4 separate regions of the Homo sapiens genome follow, and regions 1, 2 and 4 are each linked to region 3. Evidence: promoter capture Hi-C in 16 types of primary human blood cells and fetal thymus (Javierre and others, 2016). All regions are on one chromosome and are shown on one strand. Each heading gives the region's core, a stretch centred on a gene start or on the middle of the fragment in contact. The rest is flanking DNA. Distances are from core to core; before and after follow the strand shown. Region 1 overlaps NRXN3 (neurexin 3). Region 2 has its middle 3.8 kb from the start of CIPC. Region 3 holds the start of SNW1 (SNW domain containing 1). Region 4 overlaps NRXN3 (neurexin 3).

Region 1 (2,716 bases), core at 189-2,688, 800 kb before region 3:
ACACTGGAAAAGCTCTCTACCTGAACCTTCAGTTTTAGGGTTCAGTGTGGAGAAAGAGCTTCTGAGAAATCCTGGTGGTAGAGCTCTGTTTACAGGGGAAACAGGAAATTGAAAGGCCTTGTTTTAGGTAAGTTTGTGAATTCCAAATTGAATAGATTGGCACCAAAAGGCAGGCTTCTTAGGATCCTTGCTTTCATTTACTCCTTGATCTATCTACTTAATAAATGAATATTAACTGAGCATCTTCAATGTTCAAGGAACTATCTTAGAATCAAAGGGATAGGAAAAACACACAGGGCACAGTTATCCCTATCAGGTGCTTATAATGTAGTTGTATAGACAACATATGGTCATACAAAATAGCATAAGATAGTATATACCAAGTGCCAAATGAGTGCTGCTGCTGCTGAGCACTTTAGAAATTCAGAGAGGGAACGGCACTGAGTGCGCTGAGGAGGTCAGAAAAGGCTCAGTGGAGGACATGGAACATAATCTGATCCCTGAGCAGGAATCAAAAATATGAAGACAAGATCTAGTGGAAGGGTTCTAAATATAGGGGAGAATACTGACTGAGACCCCCACCATATGTCAAGTACTGTGGTAGGCCTGCACAAGGTTTGGGATGATAGGCAAAACCTACCATGGCGGCCGTGAAGACAACAGCCTAGGGAAACAGTAGATAAGGATATAAAGATTAGTAGGAGATGGAGCTGGAAAATGCAGACCAGATCGAAGGACCTTCATTACCAGGCCAAGGACTTGATTCCAAGAAGGAAAGGTACAATACATAAGTTTCTAACCCATATACCTCCTAGAGAGGAGGCCGGGGTGTTCCATCAGGACCTACAATGTCCCATAGGTGAGGAGTAAGCAGTGGTGCCTGGTAAATTTCTAAACAAACAGAGATTCTGGCTTCATGCAAACATTCTCAGGACAAAGGAAGAAACAGGTAATGGGTGAAGTAGGAGCCCAGTCAGAGCCCAGTCCTACCTAGAGATAGTTAAATAGACATTCTGAGGAGCATTTGTGAGCCTCCAGTGAAGAAGATGTGTGAGGTTGCTCTTGACAGAGCCAAACACTATAACCTTCACACTGAGGCGGGAATAGGAGGAGGGGGACAAAAGAGGGCGGAGACAAAAGATGTTCACTTTAAGTCAGCCAGTTATTGGCATCAAAGCCAGAATTCACCTCCTCTCTCCATTATTATTGTGCTTTATTATTATTATAAGGGAGAAATTGCTATTCACTAGGATTTTTTCCCCCTAAGTATTTTAAATGCTGCTGTAACAGTAAATATCACCTCTGGCATATTTGTCCTGGAAGAAAAGAGTATAATTTGGAATACCTAATTGAAATGTGCTACAGGAGATAAGGCAGCTGCAGAGACTGACATTTAAAGGTAGGAGACACCACGGAAGACATGAAATATTACTGTTGCTGCCTCAAAGCCAAAAGCCACTTTCACAGAATGGAAACATCTTCCAGTTCTGCTTCCTCCTTCTGGGTCCCCCATGATCCCATTCCTCAGACTCACTGCTATAGGGTTCCAGTCATCCCTGCTCTTCCTTTAGAACCCCAACCTGCTTGCATTGAGAATGCTGAAGGGCAGGCAAAAGAGAATGATCTCATCCTAGTTCTCTTTTGCTCTTATGTACCCATCTCAAAATCCTAGGTCTTATTTCTTGATAAATCATTTACATGAAGGTGGATGGGCTAGACACAAAAGGAAAGGAAGAGATCTGTCAGTGCATCTCAGTAGGTCTCATTAAAAAGCTGTTTTATGCCACTGTCGCAGAAACATAGTAAAAGACTAGAGGTTACCTGTGCTTAACGCCCAGCAAGCCCTGCCCATTGATAACTGGACACAGTTACTTTCTAGGGGATGGATCTAGGTAAGAGCTAACTCACTGCTTATTCCCTTCACCCATACACCAGAATAAGGACAACTTGCCAACCAACCATCAGACCTACTGCAATTCAGATTAACCACGTTTTTCATCAAACCTATTTCCGTTATCATTTCTCTATCCATCAAGGTAGCTTGTCTCCAAAGATAGCCCCCCAATAAACCATGACTCCTAATATTTCCCTTTGTGTAGTCCCCTAATCGATGAATATTGGAGAGCCCTTTGCCTTGCTTTTGATCAACAAAATATAGCAAAAGTGACAATGAATGACTCCTGAAGCTAGGTCATAAGAAATTTTATTTTTTCTGCCTGGTTTTCTAAGAATAGTTTTTCTTCAGATAGCCCTTCTTGGAACCCAGTTGCCATCCTGTGAGAAGCCTTGGTCACATGGAGAGATCATGCATAGGTTCTCTCTGGCTGAGTTATCTCATCAACTGCCAGCTATTTATGTGAATGAGGTACCTTGGATGTCCCATCTCATCCAGACACCAAATGATTGCAGCCTCAACTGAAGTCACATAAAGTGGAAAAACACTCAACTGATTACAGTTATTTCTTAACTAGAAAAATTACTTAGGATCGTTAAGGCCATATCTTATTTACACTCTTTGTTAGACAAAATGGCTTTCAAGAGTCTTAAGGATTTTCCTCTAGCACAAATTTCTATTATGGTTATCTATCACTTTATATTTTTAAGAAAACTATTCCAAAATATAGTGGCTTAAAACAATGTTATTTCTCATGGTGCTATGAGTTGGCTGGGGTCAATTGAGTGGTTTAATCTTGGAACCTCTCATGTGGTTACAGTC
Region 2 (2,900 bases), core at 10-2,509, 670 kb after region 3:
AATTGGGTGCAGTGTATACTGCTCAGGTGATGGGTTCACCAAAATCTCACAAATCACCGCTTAAGAACTTACTCATATAACCAAAATGCCACCTGTTCCCCAAAAACCTATGGAAATAAAAAATTTAAAAAACAGCAGCATGGATACTAGGCTTAATACCTGGGTAACGAAATCATCTGTACAACAAACCGCCATGACACAAGTTTACCTATGTAACGAATCTGCACACGTATCCCTGAACTTAAATAAAAAACAAAACAAAAATAAAATTCAAAAAAAAAAAGAATAAAAGTCTGCCTTCAAATAACTTACAATCTGATATGGGAAATAAGACATGATGTAATAAGCAATATGAAAGAGAATGGGATAACTACCAAAAGATTCTGAACAAAACAATAACATTAAGGGAGAAAAAAAAAACTTTCTTTTTCGGTTGTTGGAGTAGAAAGAGACCAGCAGGTAAAGCTTTAAAGACAGCTTGAAAGTTGGGTTTGCAATAATGGAAGCAGGTGAGGGGATAATGCATACCAAGCAAAAAAGAATCAGTGAAATATGCGAAAGCATGAGGCCCTCTTAGTCCTCCGAAGGGGCAAATAAACCAAACTTCCTTGACTTTACCTACATCTTGAGCAGACAGCCATGCTGTACCAATAACTTAAGCTTCAGACAAGTATTGTAATGGAACCAAATGAATCAAGACTAATGATAGGCATAATTTTTATGATTATTTTATGCTATGATTCTATATAATTAGATATACAGAATAAGCAATTCATGAAGATTGATAGTGAATATTTTTATGTAGCTAAACCACCGTAAACGTTTTTCTTCCTTTCCTATTAATTTACCAAGATTTGTAAATCAGCATCTATTGATAGTTTACTGGTGCCACGAATTCTTTAACCTTCACTCACTTTACTCTCTTTACTCTTGGTTGGAGTAAGGACCCTATGATGGATGGGGTAAGGACCCTGTGATGGATAGTGGGTTCTGAAGCACCTATTCTTCTTGCTGTAGGGTCCTTTCCAATTCAAGTTCTCCCCAGTACCATTGTGGTCTAGGTTCGGTTTCCTACCACCACAACCAGCAGGGGGAGACATGCGCCCTTAAATCCTACATTTAGGGACTTGCGAATGTTTCTTTTTTTTTCCCATCTACTTCTTGAAATTGTAACCTGCCTATCCGTGTGAGGATTTGAGTTTTTAACCCTGCCTAGGATACCATGAAGAGTCAGCCATGGGCCGAGTTTTATTTGAAGATATTTTAAGTGTATTATGTTATACAATTTAAAATATTTATAAACGATTGTTTAATAATTGTTGAATTTAAAATTAAAGTCATTTAAAAATATTTAAAAGTGGGCCAGGCGCAGTGGCTCACACCTGTAATCCCAGCACTTTGGGAGGCCAAGGCGGGCAGATCACTAGGTCAGGAGTTCAAGACCAGCCTGGCCAACGTGGTGAAACCCCGTCTCTACTGAAAATACAAAAATTAGCTGGGCATGGTGGCATGCGCCTTTAATCCCAGCCACTCAGGGGGCTGAGGCAGGAGAATTGCTTGAATCCAGGAGGCGGAGGCTGCAGTGAGCTGAAATTGTGCCACTGCACTCCAGCCTGGGTGACAGAGCGAGACTCCGTCTCAAAAAAAAAAAAAAAAAAAATTTAGAAGTAATTAAAATAGTGTAATAGGAGACGGTGAAAGTCAGTGATCTAGTTTCAAATTCCAGCTCCTATCAATATCATTTTACAAAAGAAGGGTCATTTTGATATCTTTTCCGTATACACAGAAGGGAAGATAGGACATAACCTCACAATTTAAAAATAGAATAATTTCGGGTGTATGAAAAACTTAAAGCTTTTAGTCTTATTTTTCCAGTTTGGCTGAAGACTGGTGAAAACATCACCACAAGGACTGGCAACAGTTCTTGGACTGGTGTTTGGGAACCATTGATTTCATTTTCCTGAACCTCAGTTTGGCCGTCTGTAAAATAGTTATCCTGTAGTTTGAATCTAGCATCTAGCATTATTGGTGCTGATCACTTCATAAGTCTTTAAATAGGATTTGATGGAGTGGTAAGTGTGTCTCATGGGTCAGTGAGAGAAGAGAGGGGCTCCAGCCTGTGTGGGCAGGGGGATCTACAGGTGCCAGATGGCAGAGGCAGAGGCCAGTGATAGTGGGATGTATGACCTTTTTTCCCTTAGCAGTCAGGTAACAAGGCCCTCACCAGCCAGACTGGTTCTTGGCTCATATTTTAGGGAAGTATTTGGCAGAGCAGGTACACTAAAAGGGTAATATTCAGGTTATGGTCAGGCTGTTCATATACAGGTGAAGGTTTTGATTTTAGAGACAGTGTAAACCCTTCCCACATAGCCCTCTGTCTTCTTGCTGATACTTGAAATTCCTTTAAGGAATTGCTTGACACCAAGATACTCTAGAACCCAAGACAAATTCTTCCATAACAACACGTAGTGCTTATTATTTGCCAGATGCTGTCCTAAGTGATTTGCCTACATTTATTCATTTAATCCTCCCACTGTCTATGAGATGGGTGTAGTATCATTATTTTCTTTTTACAGAGCAGGAGGCTCAGATATGGAGGCCCACGTCACTTGCCAAGGTCACCCGTGGTAAGTGGTAGAGCCAGGATTTGAATTCCAGAGTCCTTGCCACTTTGCTTGACAGCCTCCATGTTAAAGTGGAAATGGGTAATATCTCAGCCTTTCCTGCTATGCTAAGGAGGAGGCCAGTGGGGAGCTAGAAGCACTATGAGGAATAAAAATAAAATCTTAAGCCCTTCAGCTAACTGGAATGACCCCCTCTTGGCCAAGCAGTCCCCAGAGAAACCCTGAAAACTGAATGTCTGGCCGTGATGGGGAGAGAGGTCAGACACGCCTTAGTAT
Region 3 (2,995 bases), core at 328-2,827:
GGTTATATTACACAATGTGATTAACAATCCTGTATTTACCAAAAGATTTTTTCTTTTTGTTTTTTTGGTTTACATGCTGTGGCAGGCAGAATTCTAGGATATCCCCCAAGATCTCCTCCTCACCCAACCCCCACAGTACCTGACCTACATAACCCCTGGGGCCATGACTATGAAGATTCTGATTCTGTTATGCGGTGTGGCAGAGTTGATTTTTTTTTTTTTTTTGAGACAGAATTTTACTTTGTCACCCACGCTGGAGTGCAATGGTGCAATCTCGGCTCACTGCAACCTCCACCTCCTGGGTTCAAGCGATTCTTGTACCTCAGCCTCCCAAGTAGCTGAGAAAACAAGAGCACATCACCACACCCAGCTATTCTTTTATATTATTTATTTATTTATTTATTTATTTATTTTTATTTTTTGAGACGCAGTCTCACTCTGTCGCCAGGCTGGAGTGCAGTGGCGTGATCTTGGCTCACTGCAACCTCCGTCTCCTGATTCACACGATTCTCCTGCCTCAGCCTCCCCAGTAGCTAGGACTACAGGAGCGCGCCACAACGCCCAGCTAATTTTTGTATTTTTAGTAGAGACAGGGTTTCACCATGTTGCCCAGGCTTTGTCGAACTCCTGAGCTCAGGCAATCCGCCCGCCCCGACCTCCCAAAGTGCTAGGATTACAAGTGTGAGCTACTGCGCCCGGCCAAGAGTTGATCTTAAAATAGGGAGATTATCCAGGTGCTCCTGATCTAATCACATGAGCCCTTTAAAAGCAGGGCATTTTTCTCCAACAGTGGCAGAAGAGGAGTCAGAAAGATGTGCCTCAGAAAGCAAATATCCATGTTGTGAACTACCAATAAATAGGGCTCATGTGGGAAGGACTCGAGAGTGACCCCTAGGAGCTGAGGGTGGCCACCACTAACAGCACAAAACAAAACAGGGAACTCGATCCCACAACCGCCAGGAACTGATTTTTGCCAACAAGAATGAGTTAGGAGATGGATTTTTCTCCAGAGCCTCCTATGAGATTTCAGCCTTGTCATACCCTGGGCAGAGAACCCAGACACTCGGTAAATTACCAAGGATTACGAAATATCTCCCCAAGAGAGTGTTTTGGCGGGTGAGAGGATATGGTTTAAAGAAAAGTTTTGAGTGTGAATGTTTTCAGAGAGTCCAAGGACTCTCCATTAGCTAGTCTCATTATTACCTGTCGTTTTAAACGCCCTATCACTCTTACTTAAAGTAGCTGTCCCCGGGAAGCTTTTGTATTTTGTACCCCTTCTCGGGGAACGGGACTGAGTAAGGAACGTAATAAAGCGGCCTAAAAGGCATCTCCCTGTATCTTTGATATTTTGCCTAGGGAACGCCCTATCATGTCGCATATAAGCGATCGAGTTATGCATTTGTTGCTAGCTGAAGAGATTATTCCTTGATAACCGCTTGGTCTGGTCAGAATACAAACGGTACTCCTGTTCAAAGAACTACAAATCCCAGAAGGCCTTTTCGGCCAGAGCGCCTGCGCATCGCGCACTCCTTCCTTTCCGCTCCTCATCATCTGGAAAGACCCGCCCAGCGGTGCTGTCGCTCGCGCTGGAAGAAGCGGAAGAAGATGGCGCTCACCAGGTGGGTTGTTGATTGGGGTCCTCGATACGGAAGGGTCTGGGAGTACCAGTCTTCTTCATTTCTCTTCCCATACCCTCCGGGCGGTGACCTGACCCGGGGCACAGAATGACGTGGGCCAAGACTACGGCTACGCCCTCCCGCTGGCCGCCGCTACGACTAGGCCTAGTCGAAGCTGGGGTCTTTCAGCGGTTTCCCGGGTTTAGTTCACCCGCTCACCGAGGCCGAAAGCTGCGGAGTGGTCTCAGACACTGAAGAGTGGGTTTTTCGCGTGAGCATCTTGCGGGGAGCGGACAGCGCTCCCTCAGGTCCGCGGCTCGGGCGAACGAGATGGGGTTGGTGACGGTAGTGGCTTATTTGGGCGGAGTGAAGCGCGCGGGCTGCGACTGCGCGGCTTTCCGGCCGTTTGCCTGTGGTGGTCTCTCTCCTTTCGCTGTCCACTGGGTGTCCCGAAACAAGGATTCCTGAAAAAAGAGGCCCGGAGCTGAACACAGATTTAAATGAGCCACAGTAGTGACCGCCGTCTGCTGATATGCGCCACTGCTCCGCATTTTAACTTTGGAGCTTAGAATTTCTTCCGTAGATAGAACCACCTCAGTTTTGCTGTTTCCGGTTACCTTAGTAACCGTCTGTAAAGTGCTCTCCGCCTTTAAGAAAAAGATGCTTTTCAGTGGGAGAGTCCGAGAAGTTACGCTACTCCTACTAGTTCCCAGCCTTGCTGCCCCATTTTAAGTGGAAAAACTTTCCATGCGAACTCAACAGGAAAAGGCTAGTGTTCAGGAAGGTTATAGATAAAGTAATCCTTTCAGGACATCAGCTTGAGCTCTTTTAACACCCTTCATTCTCCTCACGCATGTTTTTTTTTCTGGCTGATGACAGTATGACTCCAAAAGTTTTAATCAAAAAATTATTTTGGGAATTACTGTTGGTGCCTTGCTCTGTCCTGGGGGTTGTGTACACAGAAGAAAATCTGTCTTTGGCAACAGGGAAGATAGGGGTGCAAGGTATACAGACATAAAACAATTACAGAACACAAAATGTGCATTTGTGTAATACTAACCTTAGTGCAAAAAGAATTGAATGGAATAAGTTATGTGGGCTGGAGAGTTTTCTCCCCACCCTCGTTTCTAAAATTTTTTTGCTTTTTTTTTTAACTTTATTTTTTGAGATGCGGTCTCGCTGTGTTGGCCAGGTTGGTCTTGAATTCTTGGCCTCAAGCAGTCCTCCTGTCTCGGCCTCCGAAAGTGCTAGGATTACAGGCATGAGCCACCATGCCCGGCATCTGAAATTTTTTTAAAAAAAAACTAGAAATAGGGTGTTACTGCGTTGGCCAGAGTGGTCTCCAACTCTTGGCCTCCATCAATCTTCTCACCTAGGCC
Region 4 (2,734 bases), core at 161-2,660, 850 kb before region 3:
CACACACATCCACAGAAACCTTAACACAGATCGTGGAGAATAGCAACATAGTATGCCTGGTTCTTCCCTTACTTATCAGAATGGAACTGTTCAGTTTCACTCAAATAATAAATTTGGTAGGAATAAATCTCATCTGAAAGCTCTCCATGATAAGGTCACAAGAATAAACACTCTTCCCTCTACACATCTGTATCCTGAGTCTCTAGCACAGCACCAGGCAAATAGCAGGTGCACGATAATAGTATTGACCCAAAGAAGGCACTGTGGGGACTTCCAGACTCATAGCTGGGCCAATGACGAAGGAGAGGACTGAGCCAAAGGAGGTGAGATCACTGTGTCAGGGAAGCGGATCAAAGCCTGGGTTTGCCTAAAGAGACAGTTGTCCTGCCTGAGTTCTTACACCTTGGTCCTTTAGGATTAATAAAGGAGCCAGCTCAAAGGGGGCAGGCCAAAAAGGATCAAATGCTTTCATGGAAGCTCAGCGGGAAAGGATTCCATATATTAGAATTCATCTCTGATTGCTCAAACTACTGATCCTCTTGTAATGAATAAAATATGCCACTGGAATGAATGCTTCATATTAATAAAGACATGATTTGGTCCTCTGAGGTGTAGGGAAAGGAGTATTCTCCCAGGGAGGAGACAGAGCTCTTTCTCTACACCTCTAAAACTTATCAAAGGCTGCTTACAAAAACTTACAATGCCCTCAGCTCCAACAGACAATGGGGCTGTGATCATAGAAATTATGAGCATGCCAGCCAGAATCAGGGAATTCAACCTAGGAGGATGGGGAACAGGAAAACGAAGACTACCTAAAACAATGAAAGCTTAAGGAAAATGTTTCTCTCGCAGTAAATAAATATTTCTCACAATTTCTATTGAGACACTTAGGTTTATACGTTACTTAAAAACAATCATCATACTTTTTTATTCCCCAATAAACGCTTACTCCATTTGTGGAAAAGGTCATGTTTTGGCTTTGCAACAGAGAGTATATGGTGTTTGTCAACAACACGCTGGCAGGTACTAAACCAAACATGCCCCCTGAGTTGACTGTCTCCTGGGAAAGAAAGCCCTGGCTTCATCAGGAACTGGAGCATTAAACTAGCAGCATATTTTAGTCCAAAACATATTTATCGAGCATCTAGGACACTGTGTTAGGTTCCAGAAATATAGATTTCAATAAAACATGGCTTTTCACTTAAGAAGTTCACAGCCTAGCGGGAGAGACCGTAAGTGTTTATTTAAATACAATGTGCTATCAGAGTACAGGGCAGGCAAATTCAGTAAAACTAAGGAAGGGACAAAGATAGGCAGGGAAGGTTTTCTCAGTGATTAAAGAGCTGAGTTAGTCTAGAAGAATGAGTAAGAGTTGGTTAGGGGGAAAGACAGAGAAGAGTTTCCAGGCCAAGGAAATCACATGATCAAAGAAAACTGAAGTTGGTATTTCCTGACTAAAAAAAATGTCAGATGAGGGCATGGCCTTGCCATATGACTACAGAGGAATCATAGGGGAAAGTCATTCAAGAGTCATGCATTGAGCATAGCTTGTATTTTTAGCACAAATCCATTTTTAGATGTTAATGTGTAAATTTCTAGAAAAATGTGGTTATTGCCATAAGGGGAACAGATGTCTTTGATTTTTCTAGTTTAAAGAAATCCAGCTTTTCTTCTAGTCTTGTACCCATGTCCCTTGTCCTGCTTGATCTTTTTTTCCTCTCTCTTCTTAGTCTCCACCTCCTCCTCAAATTCTTGTGCTGCTTGAAATAACCATCATCTATCCTTCTTCACACATTTTGTCATTCTGCTAATCCTAAGGAATTAAAAACATGTATACACACTCGCACACTTATAATCACATGAAGACACCATATGTTGAACTTTGTGATTATTTTATTATTTTAAAAAATCTGACTGCAGCAATCCTCTTTTAAAAAGTGGTTCCAATATTTACATGTAGCAGCTTTGTACACCAATGAAAACTGAAGCTTTTTTAAACATGGTTTACTACTACACCATTTAACACGTATAAAATGTGATTCTTCTTTTTGTTTTATTTTTTTTAAAGAAATCCCAACAAATGTAGATGTTCAAATATAGCACTTCTGGCTTCTGTTTGTAAAGACTGTAAAATGAGTAAAGATTTGATAGAAAAATACCCAGAGATGGCGCCTCCCATATATTTTTATGATCATGTGTAATAAAGTTCCTTGCCCAGTAGCATTTTTATATGACATTAAATTCCAGAATCTCACAGGGTTAGTTTTGATCTGACCTGAATGTCAAATTAGAGGCCAGAGATCCAATATATATTATTCACTTGGATATTTTTCCCTCTGAATTTCTTTTAATATTTCAACGGCATTACTCAAATAGAATTTCTTTCTCCTCCTTTTATAGGGCAGAGTCATTTACTTCCAGCAGAATCTGTGTGTTAAGAGTTCAGTGTTTCCCTTTGAGCTTCCAGGAAGTGCTTTAACTTATACAGTTAGATGTCAAGATACTAATGACTCCTTGTTCTTGAAGAGTGAAAACTGTGACATCAAAGGTGAGTTGTCTCATCAAAATACAGCAGGCTTCCTCTTGAGCCTGAGGGAAGATGATGACTTAAAACTCAAAAGGACCAAAGATGACTCCAGGTCAACTTGTGGGGTGGAGATGAGGAAGTAGTAGGGGAAAAAAAATCGAAATCCTTTGCCTTGTACTAGATCTCTTTAGAATCATGCCTTTAGGA

What was found. Contacts are between HindIII fragments. The CHiCAGO score rates a contact against its expected background, and 5 or more counts as called.
Region 1: a fragment that was not itself captured here is called in contact with the fragment with the promoter of SNW1 in region 3 in 1 of 17 cell types (M2 macrophages); the score reaches 5.1 in M2 macrophages.
Region 2: a fragment that was not itself captured here is called in contact with the fragment with the promoter of SNW1 in region 3 in 1 of 17 cell types (neutrophils); the score reaches 5.3 in neutrophils.
Region 4: a fragment that was not itself captured here is called in contact with the fragment with the promoter of SNW1 in region 3 in 1 of 17 cell types (endothelial precursors); the score reaches 5.8 in endothelial precursors.

Annotation. Positions count from the first base shown.
Region 1 is chr14:78,562,670-78,565,385 of GRCh38, reverse strand. All of the region lies in intron 4 of NRXN3 (neurexin 3), which reads right to left. Among named protein-coding and RNA genes, the nearest start is that of NRXN3-AS2, 150 kb to the left of the region's middle. The HindIII fragment of the contact is 5,632 bases long and covers 1-2,716 here.
Region 2 is chr14:77,093,057-77,095,956 of GRCh38, reverse strand. No RefSeq gene overlaps it. Among named protein-coding and RNA genes, the nearest start is that of CIPC, 3.8 kb to the left of the region's middle. The HindIII fragment of the contact is 1,194 bases long and covers 663-1,856 here.
Region 3 is chr14:77,759,738-77,762,732 of GRCh38, reverse strand. SNW1 (SNW domain containing 1) reads left to right here and starts at 1,577. Exons shown (of 14, transcript NM_012245.3): 1 at 1,577-1,619. The coding sequence starts at 1,606. SLIRP-OT1 (SLIRP overlapping transcript 1) reads right to left here and starts at 1,965. Exons shown (of 2, transcript NR_161324.1): 1 at 1,617-1,965. RefSeq lists enhancers at 64-838, 1,386-1,705, 1,613-2,387. The HindIII fragment of the contact is 7,128 bases long and covers 1,259-2,995 here.
Region 4 is chr14:78,605,046-78,607,779 of GRCh38, reverse strand. All of the region lies in intron 4 of NRXN3 (neurexin 3), which reads right to left. Among named protein-coding and RNA genes, the nearest start is that of NRXN3-AS2, 100 kb to the left of the region's middle. The HindIII fragment of the contact is 1,161 bases long and covers 830-1,990 here.